5 separate regions of the Homo sapiens genome follow, and regions 1, 2, 3 and 4 are each linked to region 5. The links are contacts of gene promoters, found by promoter capture Hi-C in blood cells and fetal thymus (Javierre and others, 2016). All regions are on one chromosome and are shown on one strand. Each heading gives the region's core, a stretch centred on a gene start or on the middle of the fragment in contact. The rest is flanking DNA. Distances are from core to core; before and after follow the strand shown.

The links. The method cuts DNA at HindIII sites, captures the fragments that hold promoters and counts their contacts. A CHiCAGO score of 5 or more calls a contact.
Region 1: a fragment that was not itself captured here is called in contact with the fragment with the promoter of GPA33-AS1 in region 5 in 3 of 17 cell types (naive CD4 T cells, naive B cells and total CD8 T cells); the score reaches 5.7 in naive CD4 T cells.
Region 2: a fragment that was not itself captured here is called in contact with the fragment with the promoter of GPA33-AS1 in region 5 in 1 of 17 cell types (fetal thymus); the score reaches 6.2 in fetal thymus.
Region 3: a contact is called between a fragment that was not itself captured here and the fragment with the promoter of GPA33-AS1 in region 5, in 1 of 17 cell types (neutrophils). The highest score is 8.2, in neutrophils.
Region 4: a fragment that was not itself captured here is called in contact with the fragment with the promoter of GPA33-AS1 in region 5 in 1 of 17 cell types (neutrophils); the score reaches 5.1 in neutrophils.

Annotation. Positions count from the first base shown.
Region 1 is chr1:167,384,846-167,389,697 of GRCh38, forward strand. POU2F1 (POU class 2 homeobox 1) reads left to right here. Exons shown (of 16, transcript NM_002697.4): 9 at 4,743-4,852. Among named protein-coding and RNA genes, the nearest start is that of CD247, 130 kb to the right of the region's middle. The HindIII fragment of the contact is 864 bases long and covers 949-1,812 here.
Region 2 is chr1:167,426,172-167,431,342 of GRCh38, forward strand. It overlaps POU2F1 (POU class 2 homeobox 1), which reads left to right. Exons shown (of 16, transcript NM_002697.4): 16 at 1-1,169. CD247 (CD247 molecule) reads right to left here. Exons shown (of 8, transcript NM_198053.3): 8 at 4,469-5,171. Among named protein-coding and RNA genes, the nearest start is that of CD247, 90 kb to the right of the region's middle. RefSeq lists enhancers at 1-19, 3,592-4,498, 4,037-4,226, 4,499-5,171, 5,157-5,171 and a silencer at 4,897-4,946. The HindIII fragment of the contact is 2,700 bases long and covers 30-2,729 here.
Region 3 is chr1:167,460,385-167,465,798 of GRCh38, forward strand. The region is part of intron 1 of CD247 (CD247 molecule); the gene reads right to left. All of the region lies in intron 3 of LOC101928512 (a long non-coding RNA gene), which reads left to right. Among named protein-coding and RNA genes, the nearest start is that of CD247, 55 kb to the right of the region's middle. The HindIII fragment of the contact is 2,344 bases long and covers 1,788-4,131 here.
Region 4 is chr1:167,492,373-167,497,847 of GRCh38, forward strand. All of the region lies in intron 1 of CD247 (CD247 molecule), which reads right to left. Among named protein-coding and RNA genes, the nearest start is that of CD247, 23 kb to the right of the region's middle. The HindIII fragment of the contact is 3,098 bases long and covers 173-3,270 here.
Region 5 is chr1:167,050,598-167,055,877 of GRCh38, forward strand. It overlaps GPA33-AS1 (GPA33 antisense RNA 1), which reads left to right and starts at 2,088. Exons shown (of 6, transcript XR_922249.3): 1 at 2,088-2,169. It overlaps GPA33 (glycoprotein A33), which reads right to left. Exons shown (of 7, transcript NM_005814.3): 5 at 5,133-5,252; 6 at 4,379-4,514; 7 at 2,239-3,869. The coding sequence ends at 3,737. The HindIII fragment of the contact is 1,060 bases long and covers 1,137-2,196 here.

The DNA of each region.
Region 1 (4,852 bases), core at 131-2,630, 330 kb after region 5:
TAATGCAATAAGACAATAAAATAAAATATTAATAAATGACATACAGATTAGAAAGGAAGAAGTAAAACTATCTTAGTTGCTAGATGACATGATTGTCTATGTAGAAAATCTTAAGGAATCTACCAAAAAAAGCTACTGGAATAAGTGAGCTTAGCAAGTATGATACAAACTCAATATATAAAAATCATTTACATTTCTATACACTAGCAGTGAGCATTTGGAAATTGAAATTAAGAAAAAGAAATTTACAGTACTTAGGGGTAAACAACAAAATATTTGTAAGGCCTATACAAATAGTTCTATAGTTGAAAACTATAGAACATTGCTGCATAAAATTAAAGACCTATAAAATAGAAAGAAGTAATATGTTCATGAATCAGAAGACTTAAGTTAAATGTTAAAATGTCAGTTTTTCCCAAATTGACCTCTAGATTCAACAGTCTCAACCAATACCTAGCAGGCTTTTTTGTAGAAATTTGCATACTGTTTCTAACATTTATATAGAACTGTAGAAAACACAGAATAACCAAACGATTTTGAGAAGAAAATTGAAGGACTACTGATGTCAAGAATAATTATAAAACTCAAGTAATGAAGACAGTGTAATACTGGCATATGGATAGAAATAGAGATCAGTGGAACAGAATAGAAGGTCCAGTAGATCCACATGTATATGGCCAACTGATTTGCCAAAGGTGCCAAAGGATTTCAATGGGAAAAAAAAAGTCATTCAAAAAATGCAGCTGAAACAATAGGGAAAAAAAATAAAAAACCTTGACTATTATTTCACACCATGTACAAAGATTTGTTTGATGGGTCATAGACCTAAACTTAGAGAAAAAAGCTTGGAAAAAAATCTTTGTGTCCTTGGGTTAGGCAAGGATTTCTTAAATAGGACACAAAAAGCACCATAAAATAATGGATAAATTTAATTTCATAAAAATCAAAAGCTTCTCTCAAGTGAATGAAAAGAAAACCACAGATGGGGAGAAAATATTTATGAAACATATCTGATAAAACATTTGTGTTCAGAATGTCTAAAGAACTCATTCAAGTTAATAATAAGACAATCTGATTTAAAGGAATGGGCAGCAAAAAAATTGGAGATACGTCACCAAAGATGATATGTAAATGTCCAGCAGGCATATGAAAAGATGCTCAAAAACCGTTAGTGATCAGGAAAATTTAAATGAAATATCACTACACAGTCACTAGAATAAGCAAAATTTAAAAGGCTATGACAAAACCAAGTGTTGGCAAGAAGGTAAAGCGACTAGAGTTCTCATACATTGCTTAGTGGTGTTGCAAAATGGTATACACACTTTGGAAATTATTTTGGCAGTTTCTTTTTGGGGGGGTGAGGGGGAGGCAAGGTCTTGCTCTGTCACCCAGGCTGGAGTGCAGTGGCACAATCACAGCCCACTCTAGCAGCCTGACCTCCCAAGCTCAAGCAATCCTCCCGCATCAGCCTCCTGAGTAGCTGGGACTACAGGCGTGCATCACCATGCCCAGCTATTTTTTGTAGAGATGGGGTTTCGCCATGTTGCCTAGGCTGGTCTTGAACCCCTGGGCTCAAGCAATCTGCGTGTCTTGGCCTCCCAAAGTGTTGAGATGACAGGCGTGAGCCACCGCACCAGGCTGGCAGTTTCTTATAAAATTAAATGTGCATGTACCTTGTGACCCAGCAGTTCTGTCCCTAGAAATGAAAGCATACGTCCACACAAAGACTTGTATGTGAATGTTTCTAGCAGCTTTATTCACCTCAAACTGGAAACAACCTAAATATACATCAGCTGGTGACTAGGTAACATAAGCTTTAGCATATCCATATGATGGAATGCTACTTTGCAGTAAAAAGAAACGTGCTTCTGATACATGCATCTCCTGTGAATCTCAAAAGCATTATACTACATGAAAGAAGACATAAAAGACTGCATACAGTATGATTCAATGCACATGGCATTTTAGAAAAGACAAAACTAAGGTACATAAAACATATTAGTGGTTGCCAGGGACGGGGGGCTAATGGTGGGGATTAACTGCAAAGGGAACAAGGGAACTTTTGGGAGTGATGAGAATGTTCTGTATCTACTACTATCTGTAGTAACTGCTACTGCAATTAGTAGCAGTTGTATGACTGTAGTTGCTGAAACATATACTTTGCCCTTTTAAATGGTGAATTTGTGAATATGCTGAATGCAAGAGTGAGGTTGGGATTTTGAAAAAAGCCTATACCAGAGACTTCTTCCTGGCCTCCGTTCTCTGCATATGGTGGCAGGGCCGTTGTGGCTTCATCCTGACTCCTGCTCACTGAATTCTACTCTGCCATTTCTAGATCTGGCCCAGTCCAGCCTGAGGTTTCTGGAGCTGGGGTAACTTATCTGTAACCACCCCATCTAAAGGTACCCAAGCGATTTTTAGTCCTTTATTATTTGAGAATGGGGCTACTTCAGGCCCGGAGATGAAGTAACAATGTGATAGTTAAGACTCACCTGTAACTGTCAACCAGTTTCGCTGTGAGAAATGTACAGCTACATAGGGGTCTGCTATGGTTGGTGCTCGTTTTGGCTCCTCCAAAATGGTCAGGTTGAAAATTACGCAGTGTCAGCATGACATAGAAATGAACTTTGTTATTGTCATTGAAACAGGATAAGAGAGGAACTTAACTCCAGTTGTCGCCTGTGTAATGCTTATTCTGTAGTTTTCTGGGACAGTTAGTTCCTTTGGAGGAAGCCTTGACTCATAAGGTAAAGGTCAGGCTTATATAACTCATCTAAATTTGAAGAAGAAAAATTCACAGCCACAGACTTTATCTGTAATTCTGGTTTATAATCGCTCACCTGGGCTACTCTTCACAGGAGGAGTCAACTGAGCAACTAAGATGCAGTCAGGCAGTGCCTCCCACTAGTGAGGTGTGTTCCACTCAGGGCTTGTGAATAGAACAGAATAACCTTAAGTTTGTGTGATAAGAAAGTAGAGTATTTTATTTTTAAAAAGAGACTATACCCTCATGTCCCAAAATAAACTATACATGGATTTAAATAATCAAATATTCAACAAAGAAGAAGCTAGCAGATTAAAAGGAATTTTATCAATGTTAGAAATAAGTGAAGCTTTCTCAGATTTGAAGTAACAGGATATATTAGAAAGGAAAATTAAAAGCTCACCCAAATGACAATTTAAAGGTTTATGTACCCTGAAAAATAAAAGGAAGAAAGCAAATTGGAAAAGCATTTGCATTAATATGACAAAGCTTCCTTTATAAAATTTGAGGATCTCTCTAAGGATAAGGATGAGAATAAATATCATTAATATATAAATTGGTTAAGGACGTAAATCCAATTCACATTCAAAGAAATACAGATAATAATTGACACATGGGAAAATTTTGACATTGAGTAGTAAGAGAAATACAAATTAAAGCAGCAGGGAACTACCATTTACTTCTTGAATTAGCAAAACATTTTTTAAAACTGCTAACGTAAGTCATGTGGAAGAGTGTTGCATAGTGGGAACCAACGTTATGATATGTATCAAAAACCATGAAATTGTTTATCTAGTTACCAGAAAAGCCCTTGAGAATTTATCTCAAAAGAACTAATTACACACATAGGTGGAAAAAATAACTAATATGCATAAAGTTTTTCATTGTGTTATCTATGTTAGTGAAAACATAAAAACTGTCTAGCAATTAAGAACTGGTTAAGTAAATTATGAGAATATTGCCTTAGTTTTTAAAAAGGATAACTATGAAAACTGAAATACTCCTGATTTCAGTAGTCCAAGCTATCAAAGAGTAAGTCAGTGGTAGTGCTTAAAACAAATAAAAATGCTATATATCCAGACAACTATTTAAACCATTAAATATATTCACTCTTCTTTAAAAGTCCTCGGTTAGCTGACAAATTCCAGAAAATTAATTTGGATTTTGGTTAATTTGGGGTTTTCATCTTCTATAGATTCTTGCTCGATTAACTGGTGTTAGCATAGGCTTAGAGAGTATGTGTGCCTGTGCTTGCATGCCTGTCTCCATCACCCTCTCTCTTCCAAAAAGTTATTTTTATTTTTAATTTTTATTAATTTTTATTTTTTAGAGACAGTGTCTTGCTCTGTTAAAACAACGTTAAATAAGAAAAGCAGAGAGTAAAATTTTGTATACCATAATTACAGTGAAGGTTTAAAGATATAGGTCCTTGGGGAAAAAACTGGAACAGATATACAAAAGCGAAACCTGTTATAAGCTATTTAAACTGCAGGTGGTTTACTTTTCCCCCTTAATGATTTTGAATTATGATCTTGAATACTGTTTTTATAATACTGTGTCACAGGTTGGAGATGTAATAGTGGTAAACAAGACAGATATGCTGTCTACTGTTTTGACAGTTGAAGTGCTAGACTTATGAAATAGATTTTTTGAAATAAAGAGTAATTTATTAAAAGACATAAGATATATGTATTCAGACCATTTGAAAACCCAGTTATAATAGGTTTCATTTTTGTGTATTCATTTCATTTTTGTGTATTCATGTTTTTTCTATAGAATTACATAATTACTTGTAATTACAGTATACATAATTTCACTGTCTGCTTTGCTCACTGAACATTATGTTGTACATTCTGTAGTGTTACATGGTCTTCATCGTTATCCATAAATGTGGCTCTTTCCTTCAGTTGTTTACTTGGAGTAAACCTAAATATCTCTTCACGTGTTTTTCCTCATTGTTTTATTCTTTCTCCAACAGCCAGCAACCCCAACACGCACAATAGCAGCAACCCCAATTCAGACACTTCCACAGAGCCAGTCAACACCAAAGCGAATTGATACTCCCAGCTTGGAGGAGCCCAGTGACCT
Region 2 (5,171 bases), core at 130-2,629, 370 kb after region 5:
TTGCATTAGTCTAACCTCAGTAATTCCAAAGCTTAGATGTATATTTTGGTATATTTCTGGGATATTAAAAAAAAAATGTCGTTTAACTTCTTGTTTGTTTCAGTGTAATGCTCTTAAAGTCATAGCATGAAAATAATTGAACTGTCCTATTCTTAGTAGTTTGAAATAATAGTATTTTTGTATGTTTTGGGTGTGTCTATGTATGTATTAACATAACAGTTTTCACTGCCTAGGTGTTCATAATAAAAAAGAAAATGAAAAAAGTTCTGAGTGTACATAATATTCAATAATAATCTCCCACCAGGTGTCAATTTAGATTGCATATTCCTCATTACTGTTCCCAACTGGGATTTTGTTTTCTTTTAAAGAGACAGTGATCGTGTTTTTCTAAAGATGTTTTCTTTCTCTCTTTCAATATCTTAACTCACTTTTTTTTTCTTCCTTTTTTGTCTTAATTATTAATTCAGGGGTGTTTGTCCACTGTTGTCAAAGGAGGGGCACAAGGGGAATTGGCCCCCGGCCTCCTAGAACTTTTTGTTTTATGTACTTTAAAATGTGAGTTTGAGTTCTTCTTTGTGGAAACTTAAGATGTGGTGTAAATGATTCTTTCCAAAATTGTCCAGCAGCTTGAATGAGGCAGTGACAATTCTGAGGTGGTTTATTGGGAGTCCTTCTACATTTCTCTTAGATAACTCTGCACTCTGGGTGGCTATTGTGTAGCCTTACTGCCCCAGAGTGCCTGTTAGCCAAATATTTCCCCTCTGATAGGAATATTTTCTAAGAATCAGCTGATAACTTGCGTGCTGGACCTTGTTATCTGTGCCCCTGGGAGACACACGTTTTCTTGGTTTTGAAAACCTGAAACACAGGCAACTTTACATTTTGGGGAATTAGCTGATGCCTCCTGAAGCCTGAGGAGGTGGCGGGGAATATGAGCGGTGCTGTCTCTCTCAAAAGTGCCCTTTAGATGATTCCCCCTCCTAGGGCTGCCTGCAGGGGCTGTAGGCTTGGGAAAGATTGTGTAGGTGACAGTGAATCAGAATGAAGTGGTAGATTTTGTGTAGATGCATTTGTCTGCTGTAATTTTTTATATATATATTAAACTTACTGTAACTGTACAGTTCATTTCTGTTGTAAAACATCATTAAACCATCTTCCAAGTGTTTTCACATTGTTGGAGTTTCTTTGAAATTGCTGTGTTGGTATTCTGGATGCTTCACATACAGATTCTCAGACTTCGCATAATTCAGCTTCCAAATTGTTTTTTCCAAGTGCTCTCAGGAACCCCAGAATCACCATAAGCACCCTGGTTCCTGCCCCACTCCACCCTTCCTCCTGCACTCCAGGAGGAGCTATGGCCACTGCATTTCTCCCTCCCAGACCCTCAGTGTGGTTTCGTGGGACCCTGAGTAGCAGTAGTCTCCCTCAGGCCCAAGTACTTTGTGTGATCAAACACGCAGGCCCATGATTGATCCTGCAAGGGAGCTCTTCAAAGCTCCATCTCACTGTGTATTTGACTGCAGAACTGGGACCGAACTCAACTTTTTCCAAATGTATTGTTTAAACTGCACTGCCCCTCTAGCATTTCTTGCCAAGTCCTGAACATTCACTGGGTGGGGGCCGGGTGGGGGGTCCTCCGAAGGAAGGTAACCCTGAACTTGGCATCTGGTCCTCCTCCTGTTCGAGGCTGCACAACTTAGCTTCTTCAGACTTATAAATACCACTTAGCATTTAGTGTCTTACTACAATTCATTCATTTCATGAAAAGTAAAGTTTGAATTTTAAAATGAATTCCCCACAGAGAGAAGGCTTCAGCTTACTGAAGAACCTGGGGAAGTTGTCTATCACGTGCTGGCCATCTGGCAGGCATTCTTGAATTAGATGATGTGGAGAGCCGTTGTCGCAAGATGTGCTCGCTCTCCTGGAAAGGGACCAAAATGGGAAGGCAAATGGTGGGTCCCTTTCTCCCTGCTCCTTTATCATAGAATTTATATTTTTCCATTCCATTCCTTAGATATATGGCTTATGTCTCAGTTTGTAGTTATTTTCTTAAAATAATGTCAAGTTTTTAACAGAAATCCTGTTTTTGAGATAGTGTCGTGCTCACAGACTTAGCAAGCAAAACTCGTTTGTCATATCCTAAGGAATGAGGATAAACAACTGATGAGATTCTGTTACCCTGTAGTCCTTTGTGAAAAAGTTGTTAAATTCTAACCCATTTCCAGGTTTGTATACAAAGCTGAATTACCTATGGCAGGATGTGAATAATATATGCCCTTACTCTTTTGTTTTTGGAGGGACTTACATCTCTCCAAAGACCCAGGTTGAAGTTAACAGGAAATCCGGTGTTAGGACTCAGTCATGGGTTCACAAAAGTAGTTGTTGATCAACAACTGAAATGTCCAGCACCAAGCAACCAAAACACATCACAAGTTATTCATGGACAGTTTGAGGCCTGTGGCTAAACAGTTGGCCAAATGACAAGGCTTTAAATCACCCCGGAAGTTGTCCTCTTAGCCTAAGTAGGTCATCTGCCATTTTTTCTCTGCCAAGCCAGGCTTTGCAGTTTTGAGTATTTCTCTGCTTATAGGAACATTTTAAACTAGAAACCTTGGATCTTATTCCAAGAATGACCTCAAATTATACTCTAAGAAGAAAAGCGATCAGAAATATTCATATCTTATCTCTGAGTTTAGTGACATTTGAATAAACGTTTGAAAAATATTGAAAGCTTCCATCTTTATATATAATGTGTTTCCTCAATACAAGTAAAATTCCATGTTTCCTTGATTCTAAGCATATCTTCACATTTTAACCCATGAAACAGATCTACATCTTACAATGGATATTTAGTGTTTTTGCCCTTGAAATAAGTTGATACATCAGTAACCAACAGTGTCTTAGGATGGAGGGAGTGCAGTTGTGCTGTGGAGAAGGCATTGCCAGACCTCAGGAAAGACAGGAACCCTGGCAGTTCCAGGGCTAGCCGCTCTCCCCTCGGATTCAGGGCTTTGCTCTCTCAGAAACTGGTTTCTCAGCCCTGCTTCTGTGAGCATATCTCAGTTCTCCCCCAGCTTGCTGTCTGTGTGGTTACCTTGCACGTAGCCTGATGTGGCCCACACCTCAGTTTAGCTCTAGCACCATAGCTCACTGCCCACTGCCAGCTTTTCTTTTTGCCTCTTTAGACATGTTATAAAAAAATTATATATATATATATATATTTTGAGATAGGGTCTCCTTCTGTTACCCAGGCTGGATTTCGGCTCACTGCAGCCTTGACCTCCTGTGCTCAAGCGATCCTCTAGCTTCAGCATCCCAAGTAGCGAGGAACACAGGCACATGCCGCCATGCCCAGCTGTATTTTTTTGTAGAGACGGGGTCCTCCTGTGTTGCCCAGGCTGGTCTCAAACTCCTGGGCTCAAAGGATTCTCCTGCCTCAGCCTCACAAAATGCTGGGATTACAGGCATGAGCCACCATGCCCAGAATGACATATTCTTGACAGAATTGGATCAACTCACTTTTCAAACCAGCCATCCAGGTCACACAGCCTGTATATATGTCAGCTGACCTTGAAACTTGGTCTAGCACAAGCCCTCGATGTGAGAGGCACTCTCTTTCACTAATAGATGAACCAGATTTCAGTTTTAAAAGCCCAGTGAGTAGCAGAATTCCCCTGAGGCTGAGTTACAAATCAAATGCCTTCTCCTTATGAGTTGCCTGTGAATTGTTAAATATGCCTAGTGATGATGTGCGTGGCTCCTGTTGGAATCCCAAATTTTCAGGGGCTTTAACAGTCATGGTCTTGGATTTCCTTTTTGAAAATGTCAAGGTATAGATTTCAGTCTTTACACAATATTAGTTGGTGGGCTTGTTGAATTGGGGCCCTATATATAGCCACTGCAGTTAGAGGAAACACTGCTAGGGACAGGGCCACCTTTTGTGAGAGAAACGCCTAAAAGACTTGTTCTCCATCCCTCCCTCAAACCCTATGCACTGAGACATTTTGCACTGTGGCGTCAGCTGCTGTGCATAACTTCCGGACACCTTCTGCTCACACGCTGTCTATTCTGATGCCTGGGTGCCAGGCCAGCCTTTCGCGCTTGTTTTCCTGCACCTGACAAGCTGGTGCCGTGCTGCAGGGCTCCTTTCCCATAGCCCTCTCTGTTTCTGGCATAAGACTGGGCCCATCCTGACACATTGTATTGCACCAAGCCCCACTCTCTCTGTCTAAGGCACAGCCACCCAGCCGGGATGCCCGGCCCACTTGCCGTGTGTGACACCACCCATATTGCCGCATTCCGGGCCGCAGGATGCACCTGTGCTCATGTGCTCGTTCCCAGGAACTGTCCTGTTCTCTCCTGAGAATCAGCAGTTTTGCTCCCCTCCTCCCCCAAGGGCAACCTGCTGATTTACTGATGACTAAATTGCCATTACAAGCTTGACTGCTGAAATAAAGCTTAGTAAAGCTGCATTTTCACTGAAGCATTTATTATGCAAAATAGGAAGGCTTTAGCATGCCAGTATAAATTAAAACAGTAGAAAAAAAGCAGAGTAGAGAGCGTTTTCCATCCATGGCCTGTGCCCTGTAATGACGCAGCAGTATCCTAGTACATTGACGGGTTTTTCCTGTCCTGCCACTGTCCGCTGGGCAGTTATAGGTCCCATGTGTTGGGTCTTCCTGCGAGGCCTTCACAAAGATGATTTTGTCATTCGCTGAAAGCGTGAAGTGAATCAACGGCCTCCTCTTGCTCCGCAGCACTTTATTCACACTGTGTAACCACATGTTTTTTATGCCACTTTGTGCACAGCTCATCAAGGTCAGTCTGTTCATCTTCTGGCCCCTGTAGCACATGGTACAGTTCAATGGTGCGGCACAGAGGCCTGAGGCAGGGAGGCTCCCGCTGCCCTCGCAGGCCCTGGCTGACCCTCCCCTGCCCGCCCACCTTCCCATGCCCCTGCAGCTCCCTGGTTGCACCTGGCCTAGGCTCCTTTCCATCTGCCCCTCTGCCCGGCCCTCTCACCAGGGAGGCACAACATGGCCCAGTACAGTTACCTTGAAAGGAGGTGAAGGTGACAACAGAAGCCAAATTTACAGCAGGAGTGAAGCCACTCAGACACAGAGTGATACAGACATTAGGGCATGTGCTAGCATCTGCGCTTTCTCTGGGGA
Region 3 (5,414 bases), core at 1,710-4,209, 410 kb after region 5:
AGAGTGAGACCCTGTCTCAAAAAATAAAAATAAAAATAAAGAAATAAGATTATGACCAAGAGCCGTATGTCTCAGATGTTGAAGGGCAATATACCTGTGCTTCAGAAAAATCTGCCCTGTGTGCCAAAATGTGCAGAAAGGAGAGCCAGCTTCTCAGCTGGCCCCATGCCCCACTACTAACTACTCCCACGGCCTCGGCGAGTTATTTCTTCTTTTTTTAAAAATTATACTTTAAGTTCTAGATGTGAACAACGTGCAGGTTTGTTACATAGGTATACATGTGCCATGTTGGTTTGCTGCACCTATCAAGTCGTCATTTACATTAGATATTCTCCTAATGCTATCCCTCCTCCAGCCCCCTGACCCCCCGACAGGCCCTGGTGTGTGATGTTCCCCGCCCTGTGTCCATGTGTTCTCATTGTTCAACTCTCGGGGAGTTATCTCTGAGTTACTCCTGAGTCTGGGCTGGGAGACACCAGGGGGACAGGGCACACACATTTGCAAGTTTCCTATTCAGGCCATGCTGTCCAGGCAGCCAGAATGAAGCCCAGCCAGAGCCAAAAGGCTTTCCTGGAGGTGTGTTTGTCAGTTTGGCAACCCTTGGTGTGCCCAGCCCACGCGCTGTGAGCATTCGCCTATGACGTACTTTGCGTGGATCAAAGGCCCCACAAAGCCTGCCGTGCCTGCAGCTGCCACGCTGGGGACATGCTGGGGACGTGGGCGATCGTGGGCTGAGAGGCAGACTGCTGGGCTGCCGCCTCCCATGGCAGCTTTCTCCCATGGGAGGGAGTTCACCTTGCGGCTTCCAAACTCAGCCGGGCCGCCCCTAGGCATGTCACCTCTTCTCTTTTTCTCTCTGTTGTCCCATGATTTGGGTCCTCAGGACCTCTCACCTGGACCCAGGGATAAATGAGATCCACTATCAGAGCCAATGGCAGCATCGGCAGCACTCTAGAGCTATTTCTACTTGATTCTAAACCTAGATTTATACTATGTGTAGCCAGCTAGAAATACAGATCTCACTGTAGAAAAGAGACTGGAAGAAATTACAGCAACTGTTAGCAGTGGTTTCATCTCTGGTTTGTGAAATTATGGGTGATTTAAATTTTCTTTATGCTTTCCCTTATTTTCCAAGTTCCATAGTGTATAAGAATATGTAATTTTGAAATAAGAGAAAATAGTCGGCCGGGCGTGGTGGCTCACGCCTGTAATCCCAGCACTTTAGGAGGCCCAGGCGGGCGGATCACAAGATCAGGAGTTCGAGACCACCCTGGCCAATATGGTGAAACCCCATCTTTACCAGAAATACAAAAATTAGCCGGCTGTGGTGGTGGGCGCCTGTAGTCCCAGCTACTCAGGAGGCTGAGGCAGGAGAATCGCTTGAACCTGGGAGGCAGAGGTTGCAGTGAGCCGAGATCACGCCACTGCACTCCAGCCTGGGCGACAGGCTCAAAAAAAAAAGGAGAAAATAGTCAAAGTACATTTTTGATGCCTTGTATTAACCTCCCTTTTGTGTCCCCCACCCTCAAACCTTAGTTGCACTTTAGGTCAATGAATATCTAAATCACTCTGCATTCTTCAGGCACACAGCAGCAGGAGGGAGGTGTGCCTGATAGGATGCTGGATTAAAGATTGGTTCTGACCAATTCACAGAGTATAGGATGCCCACAGGAGGAAAGCTGAATATTTAGCATGGTGTAAGTCTCATGGGACTTGGCCACTGTCACAGGCTAACTGATGCCCAACCTGCATGGAGCCCAGGCCCTCTCCCCACCTGGCTCTCTTCAAGCTTAGGAGGCTCCTCATCCCACTCAGGGTTTAAGATTCTCCTTTGATATTCTAGGACATGGACCAAGTTGGGATTTAGGGTTGCTCTTGGGTTACCAGCCAGCGTCCCTGAAGCCCCTCCCAAAATGTCACTGGGGCCCTGTGACCATAGAAGAGGCCTCTGTGGGCCACACAGTGAGTCCAGCGATGAAGCCAGACCAGTGTGGTTTAGGGAACAGGCCGCAGCAATGGGCAGGAACTCTGGCAAAGCTGTGCCTCCTATGGCTCTCCTCGACACAGAAGTCACAACCCAGGTTGGGGACCTAGGCGTCTCTGCATGTGCCTGTGTAGGAGCCTGTGTGTGTAAACAAGTGTATCTACATACACGAGAACCCAAGGGAGAGAGCTGCACAGGGGGCCTGCCCTGGTCTAAGCCAGAAAAGGAGGAGAACTGTTCCTTTTGGGGGCCGATCCCTGCTGGGAGAGGTGTGCCAGGGTTCCCGCCGCTGGGCCATTTCCCCCACCTGAGTTCTCTCTACAATGTCCAAAGAATGGGACCAGTAAAAGGGGGCCAGGGCAATTCTCCCACCCCCTGGAAAAGTCTGCCCTCCCTCCCTGCAGGCCTGAAGCCCTTCCGGCCCTCATCCTCCCCTTCTCCTGTGTCATCCTGTCTTCAGACTGATACACTCCTTCCCTCTGGTTTTCCTCTCAGTTGTCTCTTCCTTGCATTTCCCTCCTTAATTCCCTCCCACCAGCCTTATTTTTTTCTCCATCATCTGTGCTTGCTCTTCCATCTTTACTCTTGATAGCCTCATTGCCTGTCTCCTCAGATAGCCTTGGGTGCCAGGTTACCTGGCATCCCTGGCCCTAAGAATTTGGGGACTGCTTCTTTTGCTTGATCCAGCTCTCTCTGGAGGATGGGCAGTCGCCGGGCCATCCCAGGAACCCTTCCTGGGTTCTGTTTGTGGCTTTTCTGCGTTGCCACTGAGCATGGGTTGCTCTCGGCTGGTTAGCATAGGAGGTCACACTATCTGTTCTGGTGCAGGAATTGTCCAGGGAATTACAGTCAAGGCTGCAATGTGACCTATGGCCTGGGGCCAGCAAGCCTTTCTTAGTCTCCAGGCAGGCCAGGTACAGACAGCAAACTCAGAAACCCACGATTACATTGGCTGTCCTTTATATTAGCACACCAGGATGCACCCAATTAGCAGTGCTCATTCCTGCCTCCCTTCTGACTTCAAATACCTAAAGCCCCTCATATCTGGAAGCAGAGACCTGAAAAAGTCATCATTTCTTTTTTTAAAAGGAGAAAGGGAGAGGGAGGCTAACACACATACACTTATTCACAAAAAATAAAAGATGGTTTCATGGAGTTAGTCTGCTGGGATATTTAGAATCTAGGTTTGTAACTTGCATCTCCTTTCTCTTGATCCTACATTTCAGCCTCCAATTTAGTGGGAACTTGAACTGAACTGTGCTAATTTATTACTTGGACACCAAAGAGTTATTATTTTGTGGAGGAAAATCAACTTTGAACATTCAAGAAAAAAGACCCCATTGTAATGATTGGTTAGAATTTGATCTGGATCTACATAGATTCATTTTCTAAAACTATTCAATTAAGGATAATGTCAACCTATTGCCTGAATTTAAATCAGCGATTCATTTGGCTAATGAATTTTCCTTTTTCTGTGAGTACCGTGTCCTACGAATTTACAGGGGATGGTCAGAGAAATGGTGACAAAGAAAAGGAGGTTTGTTTGTTTTTAATGTTTTGTTTGCTGACTTAAAAAGCACACAGCCCTGGAAATGGCCTTCTCATTACTCGAGACAATAAAACATCCCAGAAATCCTGACACTGGCTAATAAGACACATGCCTTTAATGACAGCCTCAAAAAGAAGCCCCTACGGTGGAAAGTGTTGTGTGTTTGATTGCGCTAGTTTTACCATGGAATGTGCCAGTTGTGGCTGGAAGTAATTGTCTTTTCAGTGGACAACAATAAAACTGTTTTTAAGTTCTCTTCCTTAGTAAAGCCTAATTTATAAATGGAAATAAGAAGTTTCTAATTTCCCCCAAGCAGATGCCACTCTCCTTGAACTAAAATCACCTTGGGATTGCAGTGGAGTCCAGCATGAAGATGCGGTTTTCCTGCGTTTCCAACTCAGGCTGATTGAAGGCAGCTTATTTGTTTCCCCAAACACTTGGCTCCAAACACAGAGGGCTCCCTGCTGAGTGATGGGTTCCTAAAAACCTGTTTTTCTTCAGGGGAAGATGGGTTTAGTTCCAGTTCTGAACATCTCTAGGGGTTGCTTCCTCCAAGAACGGCTCAGAAATAGTCCCCTAAGGAAACTCCATGGGGAGAAGCTTCCCTCAAACTCAGGACTGGCTGCTTTCTGCTTTGGACAAGGATGCTGGCTCCCAAAACAGGGGCCCAAATAACTTGAATTCTCAAAAGCTATTTTTATCTTTCTCAGCCCCCACTCCTATTCTAAAAGTAGAAAGCTGGGGAAACAGGGTGAGTAGAAGAAGAGGGGTACAAAAAGGATCTACAGAGAATTTTGCCTGTAGTTTTTCTAGCTCTGAAATGCCTGGGGACAGAAGATGACAACACTAACTTGAAACTTCAATTGTCTCTGTTTTAAAGGCAGACACTTTTAATTAGACAAAAGCAAAGGGAAAGAAGAATAGAAGTACAGTTACCGAAAAGGCCCCAAGATCGCACTATTTATCTGCAGTGTGTGCTCTGTAAAAAACAAAAACAAAAACAAAAAACAAATAACAACAAAAAAAAACTGCAGCAACTTTTAGAGAGCCACATAGTATTATTCCAGCTCTTTCTTCCCCTCTGTCTCCATTTTACGTTTATTTCCTTTTTATTGGTTTCACTATCTCTTGCTTTTTCTCTTCTCCCTCCAATACTCAATCTTCCTGTCCATATATTTATTTCTTTCCTTCCTTCCCCACCTCCTTTCTTCTCCTTCAGAGACCTATCCAGACAGAGAATCATGTGTTTACAAGCCTCATACACAGAGTTGTTGGAGAAGGCGCCAGCCCCCTCCCCACCACCCTGCTAGGCCAACCTGCCTCCAGTGGCCAGTCCCTTATAAACTGGAGATCAGTGAGATAGAAAGTCACTCATAGATGCCTTCCACCTTCCTTTTTTTTTTCTTTTTCTTTTTTTTTTTTTTTTTTGAGATGGAGTCCCGTTCAGTTGCCCAGGCTGCTGGAGTGCAGTGGTGATCTCAGCTCACTGCAACCTCCACCTCCCAGGTTCAAGCGATTCTCCTGCCTCAGCCTCCCGAGTAGCTGGATTACAGGCTCCCGGCATCATGCCTGGCTAATTTTTTTTGTATTTTTAGTAGAGACGGGGTTTCACCATGTTGGCCAGGCTGGTCTTGAACTCCTGACCTCAGGTGATCCATCTGCCTAGGCCTCCAAAAGTTCTGGTATTACAGGCGTGAGCCACCGCACCCAGCCCCTTTCTTTCTTCTTCACCTGTAGTGTTGCTCTAGTTTCTTGTAGCTCAGCAACTGGGCAGTGAAAGAATTGGTTTCCCTGAATTATTTGGGGGAATTTATTTATTTCACAGCAGCAGGAATTATTTATCTAGCCTAGGCTGCCAGACACTTCTGAGCATCTAGTCAT
Region 4 (5,475 bases), core at 472-2,971, 440 kb after region 5:
CTTGCCTCTCTATTATTCTCCCACTGGCTGTTGCTTATTTTTGTTAGTCCAATATTTTCCACTGCTCTCAGAGACAAAGGTAGGCAACAGTTTGCAAAATTTAGACGCTTATGTGTGCACAAAGGAAAAAAAGAAGAAAGAAAGAAAACAACAGTCTGGTGAGCTTCTGTGAAGCTTCTTAACTAGCAGGGAGGGGAATTTTCCTTTCTGGTCACGTAGGCTGCTGTCTTCGGCTTCGATTCGTAAGCCACCTCCCAAGCCCCCATTAGCCCCAGGTAGGGGACATCCCATCCCCCTAAACCTCCTTCTTGAACTGACAGTTCACCCCTAGAAGGAGGTGGGAAACCACTCAGATCCATCTCAAAGGGATGCCTACCAGGGTAGGTGTGTGGGAGGAAGGCTGAGCCCATGCTGTGTTCAGGGGCCCCCCCAGAAGGTGTCAGCCTGGAGGAACATGCCCCACAGTTATAAAAGGCATCATTCCAGGAGCTATCATGGCGTCTGCTAGGGGCAGAGAGGAAGGGGAGGCAGGAAAGGGGCTGAGTATTTTGGGGCTGTATGCTTATTGTTCTACTTTTCTGTTGAAGTTATTGCAGTTGCTGCCCTCAAATTTTTCCTGCCTTTCTCCACCCCCAATTTTGCCCTATTTTCCCTAATTTTTCTCCTTTTTTTTTTTTTTTTTTTTTTTGAGATGGAGTGTCACTCTGTCGCCCAGGCTGGAGTGCAGTGGTGCGATCTCGGCTCACTGCAACTGCCACCTCCTGGGTTCAAGCTATTCTCCTGCCTCAGCCTCCTGAGTAGTTGGGATTACAGGTGTCCACCACTATGCCCAGCTAAGTTTTGCATTTTTAGTAGAGACAGGGCTTCACCATATTACCCAGGCTGGTCTCGAACTCCTGACTTCAGGCAATCCGCCAGCCTCGGCCTCCCAAAGTGCTAGGATTACAGGTGTGAGCCACCGCACCTGGCCAGTTTTTCTCCTTTTGTCCCATCTTCCTTTTTCCTTCTCCATCTGTTCCTTTCTGCTTCTCAGAATAAGCATCTCTATCCTTAGCTTCAAATCATAAACAACTTAGAAACAGTTACTTAGCTGAGTACTGTCTCTGTGCCAGGCCCTGTGCTGAGGGCTGACATTCATTGTATCTTTGGGTCCTCACAACAGCCATATGAGATAGGTGCTATTGTGCCCATTTTATAGTTGGGGATACTGAGGCTTAGGAAAGATAAAGTAACTTGTCCAAGATCACACAGCTGGAATGTGGCAGAGCTAGGATTTGAACCTTGACAGTCTGGCTAGAAGGGACCTTACTGATCATCTCTGTCCAAATCCTCCATAATGTACAGAAGAAAACAGGACCAGAGGCATCAAGTGACGTGTCCGAGGCCCCACAGCTAGTTAGGGGCAGTGCTGAGAACAAGAAGCTGGCCTCCTAATTCTGAGATTCTTCTTGTTTAAGAAGCATTTTCCATAGGTGGGCATCTGCTAGGCTTCTTTATCTAGAATTATTAATTCCAGGAAGCATGTGCCCTGGTCAGGCACAGAATCAGCAAAAACCCCACTGGAGACCCAAAATACCCTATATGCTCTCACCATTGCAGAATCTGTTGTGTCTGCAGGTGCAGCCTCCGGGACCCAGGACTTTCTTCTCAGGGCTCTGCTGAGTTGGGTGGGGGAGGCTGGAGGCTGCAAAATGATGACAGAGCTTGGGGCTATGATCTGGACTGGGTACCCAGAGCTAATAGGAGAAGAGGACAAGCAGGGGGACAGAACTGAGTCAGGAGACACTTTAGACGATGGAGGGTTGGGGGATGGAGGTGGCTAGTGAATAAAACACTTCTGAAGGGTCTTTGCTGCCTGTGTTGATGGCCATGATCAATTCGGATCCCCAGGGCCAGTTCAGCAAAACCTCTGTCAACAAATAGAGGATTTGTTTAATCTTTTCTGAAAGAGTCCGATGTTATCTAAGTGAGGACTGGCCAGGTAATTGGAACGTTCTAGAGACTGTTGGGTTGACTTGGATTTGGGGTCAATAAACATAGCGGCTCCACTACACTAGTGTGAGGAGGACCTCGGGAGAAATCGCATAGCTCCCTGGGCTGCAGTTTTCCCATCTGTGATATGGGGATAATGTCCTCACCCTGTCGACCTCATGGGGCTGCTGTGAGGGTCAGATGAGAAAATGGGTGGGGAGGTAATAATTAGTGAACAGCACCATTCAAAGCTACAGTGGTCTTATTGCTGTGTTTTCCTAATTGTATTTTGCACTGTGGCTTTACACAGCCCATGTCTCTGGATTGTTAAAAGGATCAAAAAAGATCATGAGTAGTGCATTCCTCGGCATTTTGTATCTCCTATAATTCCTGGATACAGATAAATGTTTATTAAAGAATGTGAAGGTCTCATCAAAAACCAAGCATGAGAGGCAAGACAATTATTACCTCAGATCACATACGCCTTGGATTTCAGAGCTGGAAAGAGGGTTAGAGACCTATTCCAGGACTTTACTCTACAGCAAAGCAGTCCGGGTTCCAGAGAGCCCAGGTGACTTGCCTTGGCTGGGCTGGACTCTGTTCTCTCCCCACCTGGACCTTGTGTCCGAGGAGCAGTGTTGGACCCTCAATTCAGACAAAGTGGGAAGGCAGATCCCAAGGAGGGGAGGGCTGGTGGCCCAGGTGGCTGCCTGGAAGATACCATCACTTCTCATGCTGTCTTAGGTGAACTTTCAAAGTCCAGCGTAAGAAAAAGTTTCCAGCAACAGCATTGTGGTTAGTATTGCAGGCTTTGGAGTGAGACAGTCCTGGGTTTAAATCTTGGCTGTCTACCTAGTATCTATGTGGTCTACGATATGTTACATAACCTCTCTAAGCCTCAGTTTCTTCAACTGTAAAATGAGGATATCCTGAGGTTGTTACCTTACAGTTTGCTGAGAGGAATAAATGCAATAATGGACGGGTGTGCTCACCCCAGAGCTTGGGACTGGGTAAATACTCATAAATGACAGAGGTGGGAGTAGTTGTTACAGTAACCTACCAGAGGGAAGAAGAGTGTGCTCCCGTTTAATCCTTATCACCTACGCAGTGCTTGGCATATAGGAGCGCAACAGATGTTTCTTGAACAAACATCACTAAGTAATGCCTACTTCTGCCCTTATTCCCCCTCAGCATGTTCCTTGCCCAGCTGCTAGAATGATCCTGCCAAAACATATAATCATGTATCTTTTCTGCTCCAAGTCCTTGACCTCCATCTCACTTAGAGCAAAATGTCCTTCAAGCTTGTTTGCAACTGTCACTCTCTCCCCAAACCCCCAGAACTCAATACGTCTGACCTCACCTCCTACTGGCCTTCCCCTCACTCATACCACCTCTTTGCAGTTCCAGGAACATGCCAGTCTGCACTGCCACCTCCGTCTTCTCCAGGTTCCCACTTGGCTTGCTCGCTCACTTCCTTCTGGGTTTGACTAGAATGCCACCATCTTAGCAAGGACATCCCTGCATACCCTACCCAAAACTGTATCCCCACACCACCAGCCTGACACTTCCTATGCACCTTCTCTGTGTTATTTTTCTTCTCAGCATGTATCACAACTATCTACATATTTTTCAGTTTACCTCGTTTATTGCCTGTCTCCGTCTTTAATTGTTAGTTCTATATGGGATCTGGGATTTTGTTGCTGCTGTGGTTCAGTTTGTTCATGATTGTTTCAAAAGCACCTAGACTGTTCCTGCTACATAGTAAATAATAAATATTGGTTGAATAAATAAATGAATGAATAGCATTAGTAGTGGTGTTTGTGTGTTTGTTCATTTTGTATGGCAAGAATTGTGAAATAAAGCAGAAGGAAGGAAGGTAGGTAGGTAGGCAGGTAGTGAGTTGCTCATCACAGTAGTGTTCCCAGAAGTCTGGATTTCCATTCATCAAAGAAGCTATCGAGTGTGAGTTCTGTTGGAAGAGAGGTTGGACTAGATGATTTTGTAGGTATCACCAAATGTCTGACTGCTGCAACAGCTTGAGTCTGCTGGGGTCACACAAGAATCACTAGAGCCCTGCAACCCCCCTGCTCTTTGGGTCAGTACTTGAACCTGCCTGAGAGGGGATCTGCTTAAAAGCAGCAGCTTGTCTCCGGATCCTGAAGCAAGGAGGTTTTGCATCTCTCTGGCCTTGAAGATCTCCATCCCGTGGAGAGTCTGACTCTACAGAGCGGGCAGAGAGTAGGAAGAAGGAACCTAGACGATCTCTGGCTGGGCCAAGAGAGAAATTAGCAAGGCCAGCTGACAAACTGGGCCTCCTGCATGGGGCTGAGAAGTGGGTAAGGGTTGGGAGGGAGAAGGGACATAACCAGGGATAAGGCAAGACAAGAAGTCTAATCAGGGACTGAGTCGGTTAGAAGTTTAAGGATTGTTCCTAAATGGTTATCAGCTCCATCTGTTGGACAGCAGGCTGGTGGCAGGGGTGTGGGTGACGTGTACCACATCACCCAGGAGATCTCCATCAGAAGGAGATAGCCCTGGAACTTAGGAATCTTTACGGGGAGGCGGGTGATGAAAAAAGCAGGCCCCGGAGAGCGGGGACACTGACAGTGAGGGGAGACCTAGCAACCCTACTGCCAGGAGTGCATTCCAAAGAAATAGCCACAAATGTGAGCACAGATGTATGCACAGGAATGTCCACAGTGACACTATTCATAATGCGTCCAAACATGAAGCCATCTAAATGTCTGACAAAAGACAGTGGTAAAATAAATTACGGCATTTTACAGGCACTAAAGTTGATGTAGAGACATAGTTCATGACAGGGAGAGATGACCATGATTTATTGCTAAGTAAAAAGAACAGTTACGAAATAAAATGCACATATCCAAGCCTAGAAGGACAGTCACCAACATACTAATCAGTCTTGGGGGTAACATTTTTTAAAATGATTTTTATTTTCTCTTTGTTCTTTTCTACCTTTTCCAAGTTTTCCCCAATAAGTATGCTTTGACCTTGTAAGATATGATAAATATCATCTTTTAAAGTGTGGTGTTTTAGGTTCTCAAAGCAGAAAATAAAGTCCATTTCATTTTAAATAGGATACAGTGAAATCGCTGACTACAGGTCCTCTTTCGCTTAGTTCTCGTTTTCTTTAGTATTCTAGGGCAGGGGAGGCTTTCTTAGTGGCAAATTACTACTTTCAGGGGGAGCATTAAATAAATAAGAAAGTAAAGGTTGTAAATGTTGTTGGTATTTGATTTGGAAACAGTATGAGTTAAAATAAGATATAGGATGAGGATGCATCCTGGCACAACAGAAAAAGCACTGGGCTGAGAGTCAGTCCTGGGTTACAGAGCTAGAACCGCAAACTCTCCAAGGAACAAACTCAGTACTCCCTCTTCAAGGGGAACCTAACCCTATCCATAACCTGAATTCCACCTACAATATCTTTCTGGCTCAGCCACCAGCTTTGTGATTCTGCCATCTCCTTTCTGAGGGCCAGTG
Region 5 (5,280 bases), core at 838-3,337:
CTGCCATCAAAGATGAGAGCTCCTTGATAGTAGCCGACTTCTCTTATTCTGATTCCATGCCCAGTAAGCAACTGAGGGCATAGTGCCCATGGGGTGAGATGGCCTGGGTCAGGTGGACAGAAAGGCTGGTCTACTTGACAGCTATAAATAGCAAATTGACATTCTGTGTTGATCCAAATTGCTTAAATTCACTGTGTCTCAGCTTCCTCATCTGTAAAATGGGAAGAATAATAGCACTTATCTCATAGGGTGAAGATTATGAGATGTTCTATGGAAAAGGCCTAGAACAGTACCTGGCCCAGAGCAAGTGCTGCTGCTATAAGCATTGTACATCAGGCACTGTGAGCTTGGTTAATGTGACTCTGCATTTGAGAGCTGAGGCCCTGTCACTGTGTCACAAAAGCAGCTTAAGAACAAGACTTTTTGGGAGGGAGAGCATTAGGACAAATATGTAATGCATGTGGGGCTTAAAACCTAGATGACGGGTAGATAGGTGCACCATGGCACATGTATACATATGTAACAAACCTGCACGTCCTGCACGTGTATCCCAGAACTTAAAGTAAAATTAAAAATAAATAAATAAATAAATAACAAGATCCTGAAGAGTGGCTAATTTACCAAGCTGTGTATCAGTTCATGGATTCCTCTCTGGGCAGCCAGAGTCCCTCCTTAGGTGATAACATGAACACCTAACATTGGCATATGCCCAAGTATTTGAAACTGCGAGTGGGGATTATATGGAAAACTGTCTGAAGTGCCTAATAAGGGTTTATAGTACACAATCTTCCCTCAATTAATGGGTAGCATTTGTCTCTCTTCTAAAACACCATAAAGTCTTTGAACCAGCAGCTGGAAACCATAATTTGGGAAGGGATGCCTAACATTCTAAGGAGACTGCATTGCTGGGCTAATTTTGATTGTATAAGAACCTACAACAGTCCAATTCCCAGAGTCTGTGGACCGAAATAAATTCAGCAGGAAACTGTAGTCTTACTGAGTGATAATATGATTTGACACCCAAGTAATAGAAACATGCATTGGAGGACAGAAGAAATGTCAGCACCAGCCCTTTTCCACTTGTAAAACTCCTCATTCTTCTTCAAGATGCAGCCCAAATGCAACCTCCTCTCTGAAGCTTTCCTGAACTCCCTTAGGCTGAGTTACTCAGGCCCTCCTGTGTCCTGTAGCCCCTTCTCTTGCTCATGTAATTATGTTTCTATGTCTGTGACCGCCATTAGATTTTAGCTCCTCCTGAATAACAGTTTCTTAGTGACTTTTATATACTCTGCAAACAGCACACTGCTTGGCACGTAGTAGATGCTCACAAAATATTTGTTGTTGAATTAATGCAGTGGGTCTCGATTTCCCTCCTTTTCTTCCCTAAGCCTGGAGCTAAGGCAGGTGAACCTTCAGAGTCCTTTGAGGGGCAGAGAGAAGTCAAGTCAAACCTGGGGGAAGGTGGCCGCCTCTGCTTCCGTGGCTCCCTCAAGAACATGCTTGTGGAACCTTGCACCGTGAGGACTGGAAGGCACCTCAGAGTATCTAGAGAGCTAGGAGATGTCCTTGGGCAAGATACTGTGATACCAAATGTTATTCATTTAACAAACCTTTGTCAAGGGTCAACACATGCCAGGCCATAAAGAAGCTACAGTTCCTATCCTTACAAATCATACAGGGTGAGGCAGAGACAGACCTGTACACAGGTATAATAGGCACACAGTACTGTGTGACAAGTGCTCGGACAGGAGGGAGCACAGGAAAGGACACTGAAGAACAGACCTTGAATATCTCGCAGGAGAGTCCATGTCAAAGCCAAGAGCCCACAGCGGAGCGAAGTTGCCTTGGAGGAGGAAGCGTCACAGTTCTCTGTGACAGAACAAGAGGACTGCCCCGCCCCTTTCTCAGAAGGGGCATCATAGGAAGCAGAACTGGCTAGAGCATCTCCACCATCTTCCTTCAAGCACGTGGACCGACACCCAGGCCTCCTGGTGTCCTGACACTGCAGACTCCTGGAATATACCTCCACCAGCAGGCAGGAATCTGTCCTATTCCCAGCAACCACTAGAGGCACTGCCTGACCCTACTGCGGCCACAAGCAGAGGGACCCCAGGATTCTCAAATCTGTTACCTTGTCTCACCTCCCCTAGGAAGCAGAAGAGTGCTATGGTGAGTAGAGATGATCCATGAGACCCAAGCTTTATCTTACTGCAAACAAAATCCACATTAAAAAAGAAATAAGAATTTCCACCCACAATTTTATTATTACTGAAAGCATTTGGAATGAAGCAAAGGATTTAACAATATATATAAAAATATACATTTTTTAAAAAATCGCAAGTAGACAATAGATTTATGGAATTATTTTTCTGATCATCCAGAAAAGATAGCAATAGTAAACTGCAGTTGGGTGAGACCAGCCACTGGTCCATGAGACCTAAGCAGCCCTAACGCTGCCTGAGCTCTCAAGAGTAGAAGAAATGCTCGACAAACAGAAGGAGGCTGTGGGAGGGCAGCAGGACAGCCCCACCAGAAAACCAGAGCCCAAATGGGCTGGGCAGGGCCAGGGCTGAGGTATCGGGATGCAGGAACAACCAGGAACCCCATGTGGGTTGAGGAGACATGCCAATTATTCTGGCCTGGAGAGGAATTACCAGGACACAAGAACTCAGACCATCTGCAAGCAAGCTCCCTTGTGTGTGTTCACTTTAAATCAATTCGTGTTTAACTCACTGAATGAATACGTGGGTTTGGGTGGGAATCATCCCTGTGTCTACGATCATCTCAAGGAGACCAGAGAAGGGAAGGCACAACCAATCAAAGCAGTTTCCCCAATTAAGCTTAAGTGCCCACTAGGATGGGCGCCAGCTACTAGGGCTTCAGGGAAAGCAAAAGCCATGAGGCCCAGGCCCTGCCCCAAGGAGCTGGCGCTCTAATACAGTGAGAGCACTCGCTCAGAAGACTGTGCCTTGTGGCCCATGATTGGACGTGGGACAGAGTAACAGGATTGTTTCCACGTATGTGGACAATTAGGATAGGGTTAGAGAAATCCTTGTGATTTGAGATGGGCCTGGAGGGACAGGTACGATATTGACAGGCAGAGATGGAAAGTGTGTGGGCAAAAGCTCCCCAGGGCCTGTGCAGCAGGAGTGGGAGGTGGCCTTCCCAGGAGGGTTTGGAACATACTGGCAGCTACGGGAAGTGAGGTTGGAAAGGGAGTGGGAGCTGGAGGCCAGGCCAATGCAGGGCCCAAGCATACTCACTTATTCTTTCATTCATTCAAGAAAGATGTGTGGAGTGCAAACCCTCCACCTGGTGCCCCTCCAGGTGCTGGGCACACAGGTGAGCAGGACAGCCCCCACCCCCCAAGGCTGGCATCGCCTCCCTGGAGAGTTCTGAGTGGGAGCGCCCCATGCTCAGCGCTGTGCTTCCAGGAGCTCCTGCCAACTACGAGGGAAGTGGAGGCTGCAGCCTGGTCTTGAGTGAGGGCCAGGCCCGCACCAGGTGTCACAGCCAGGAGGGGTTACTTCACAGGACAGTGAGGTCAGCAGGATCAGCACAGGGACCCCCTTACCAGGCCAGCCATGTTCCCCACAGCTGACACTGGGGAAGAAATGTCCCCATCAATGTCTGGGATGGAGGGACAGGAGAACAGGGCTTAGAAAGGAGAAGGGAGGCCAGGAAGCGGGAGAATGAACCCCTAACCCTTCCTCCGCCGCCCTCTGCTGCTGGCCTGTCACTGGTCGAGGTGGTCCGGGGATTCACGCCCAGTGCTCCTCTGCTCTTCTTGCCTGTAGTCATCCTCCTCCTCCCTCTCTCTGGAAAGTTCTCTTAGCTGCTCTGGTGGCTCCTCATAGGCTTCCCGGTTCCTGCAGGGCAGCAGGGGACAGAGGGGAAGGATTTGCTCTCAGGTGGACCCTCAAGGGAGCTGGGCCTCATGTGCATTACAGGAAGAGCAGCCTCCAGACCTCCTCCCCACCCACCAGCTGCAGAGGACACTGGGCTGAAAGGCTGGGCTGAGAGTAAAGGTGCCACAGACTTGTTCCACGCATGAGCTGAGGGGGTTACAGGAACAGGCTGGCTTTACCAGCCCAGGAGGAACTGGCCCCGTGACAGGGGCTCCAGGCCACACTTGGCTCTAGTCATGCCACAGGAAGCCCGGCCCTGAGCTCCCAGACTGGAAAACCACAGGACTGGGAGGCAGGTCCTGGGGCTGCAATGCACATTTTATGGCTTGGACAGGTCATTGTTTCATCAGCACAAAATGGGGGTGATATACCCCAAGGGGTGCTGCAAGTAGAAGAGGCTGTGAGGAATTGGGAAGCATATTTCCAGTCTCCCCAGACCCTTCCAACAGGCTACCAGCCCAGACACTCACGGCCTTGCATCCTCCTTGTCTTCAGTGTTGTCGTCCTTCCCTCGGCAGCAGCAGCAGTAGATGATGATGCCAATGATAATGAGGGCTGCAACCACGCCCACCGCGATGCCCACATACAGGGCCACGTTCATGGAGGCTGCAAGAGGACAGAGCAGCTGCACTTGCCGAGCTTCTAAGCTAGCTCCGGGTCTCCTCCCAGCCAGGGGAGCAGCAGCTACCAGCTTCTGGTAACACTCCATGAAAGGCATGGTCTTGGAGGAATGTGACCAGCCATGGCCCAGGAATATTCTTCAGGATGGAGGTGCAGACAGAGACATATGGTCCACTTCACATCTTAACACTTTCCGGGCTACCCTGGCTCTGCAAAAGTCCTCAGATGTCAGCCCAGCCAGCTCTTTAAGCTAGATTTGGTGTCTCACCCCAGAAGGATGTGGTCCAGACTCTGCGGCAGCTGCCCTGGGCACTTCCTCCACGCCCACCGAGTGGTTCCTAGGCAGGTGGGACTGACAAAGCCTCTGAGTCCTAGAAGTCAGTCCTAGGTTCCACTTCCAAACACCAGTGGAACTGGACTGGCCTCAGAGTGAGGGGAGCCTGGGACAGAGTCATCCTGCCTAGGTCACCACAGCTAACCTGCAGGTGCGTGGCCCTAGAGAGGTTCCCCTATTCCTCCTCACGGTGGTCTCAGCTGACTTTCTGGACCCCCACCAGTTATCCTGTGGCGTTTGTCAGCCCTCCCCCCGCAGGCTGCTCTTACGAGATCTGACGGCCACCGTGATGTTGCAGAACTGCGTCCCCTCCTCATTGCTGGAGGTACAGATGTAGTAACCCGATGTGTCTGTGGAGATATTCTTCAGGGAGACAGGCTGACCTGAGGCTGCAGGGGAAGAAGAGTCAGGGTGAAG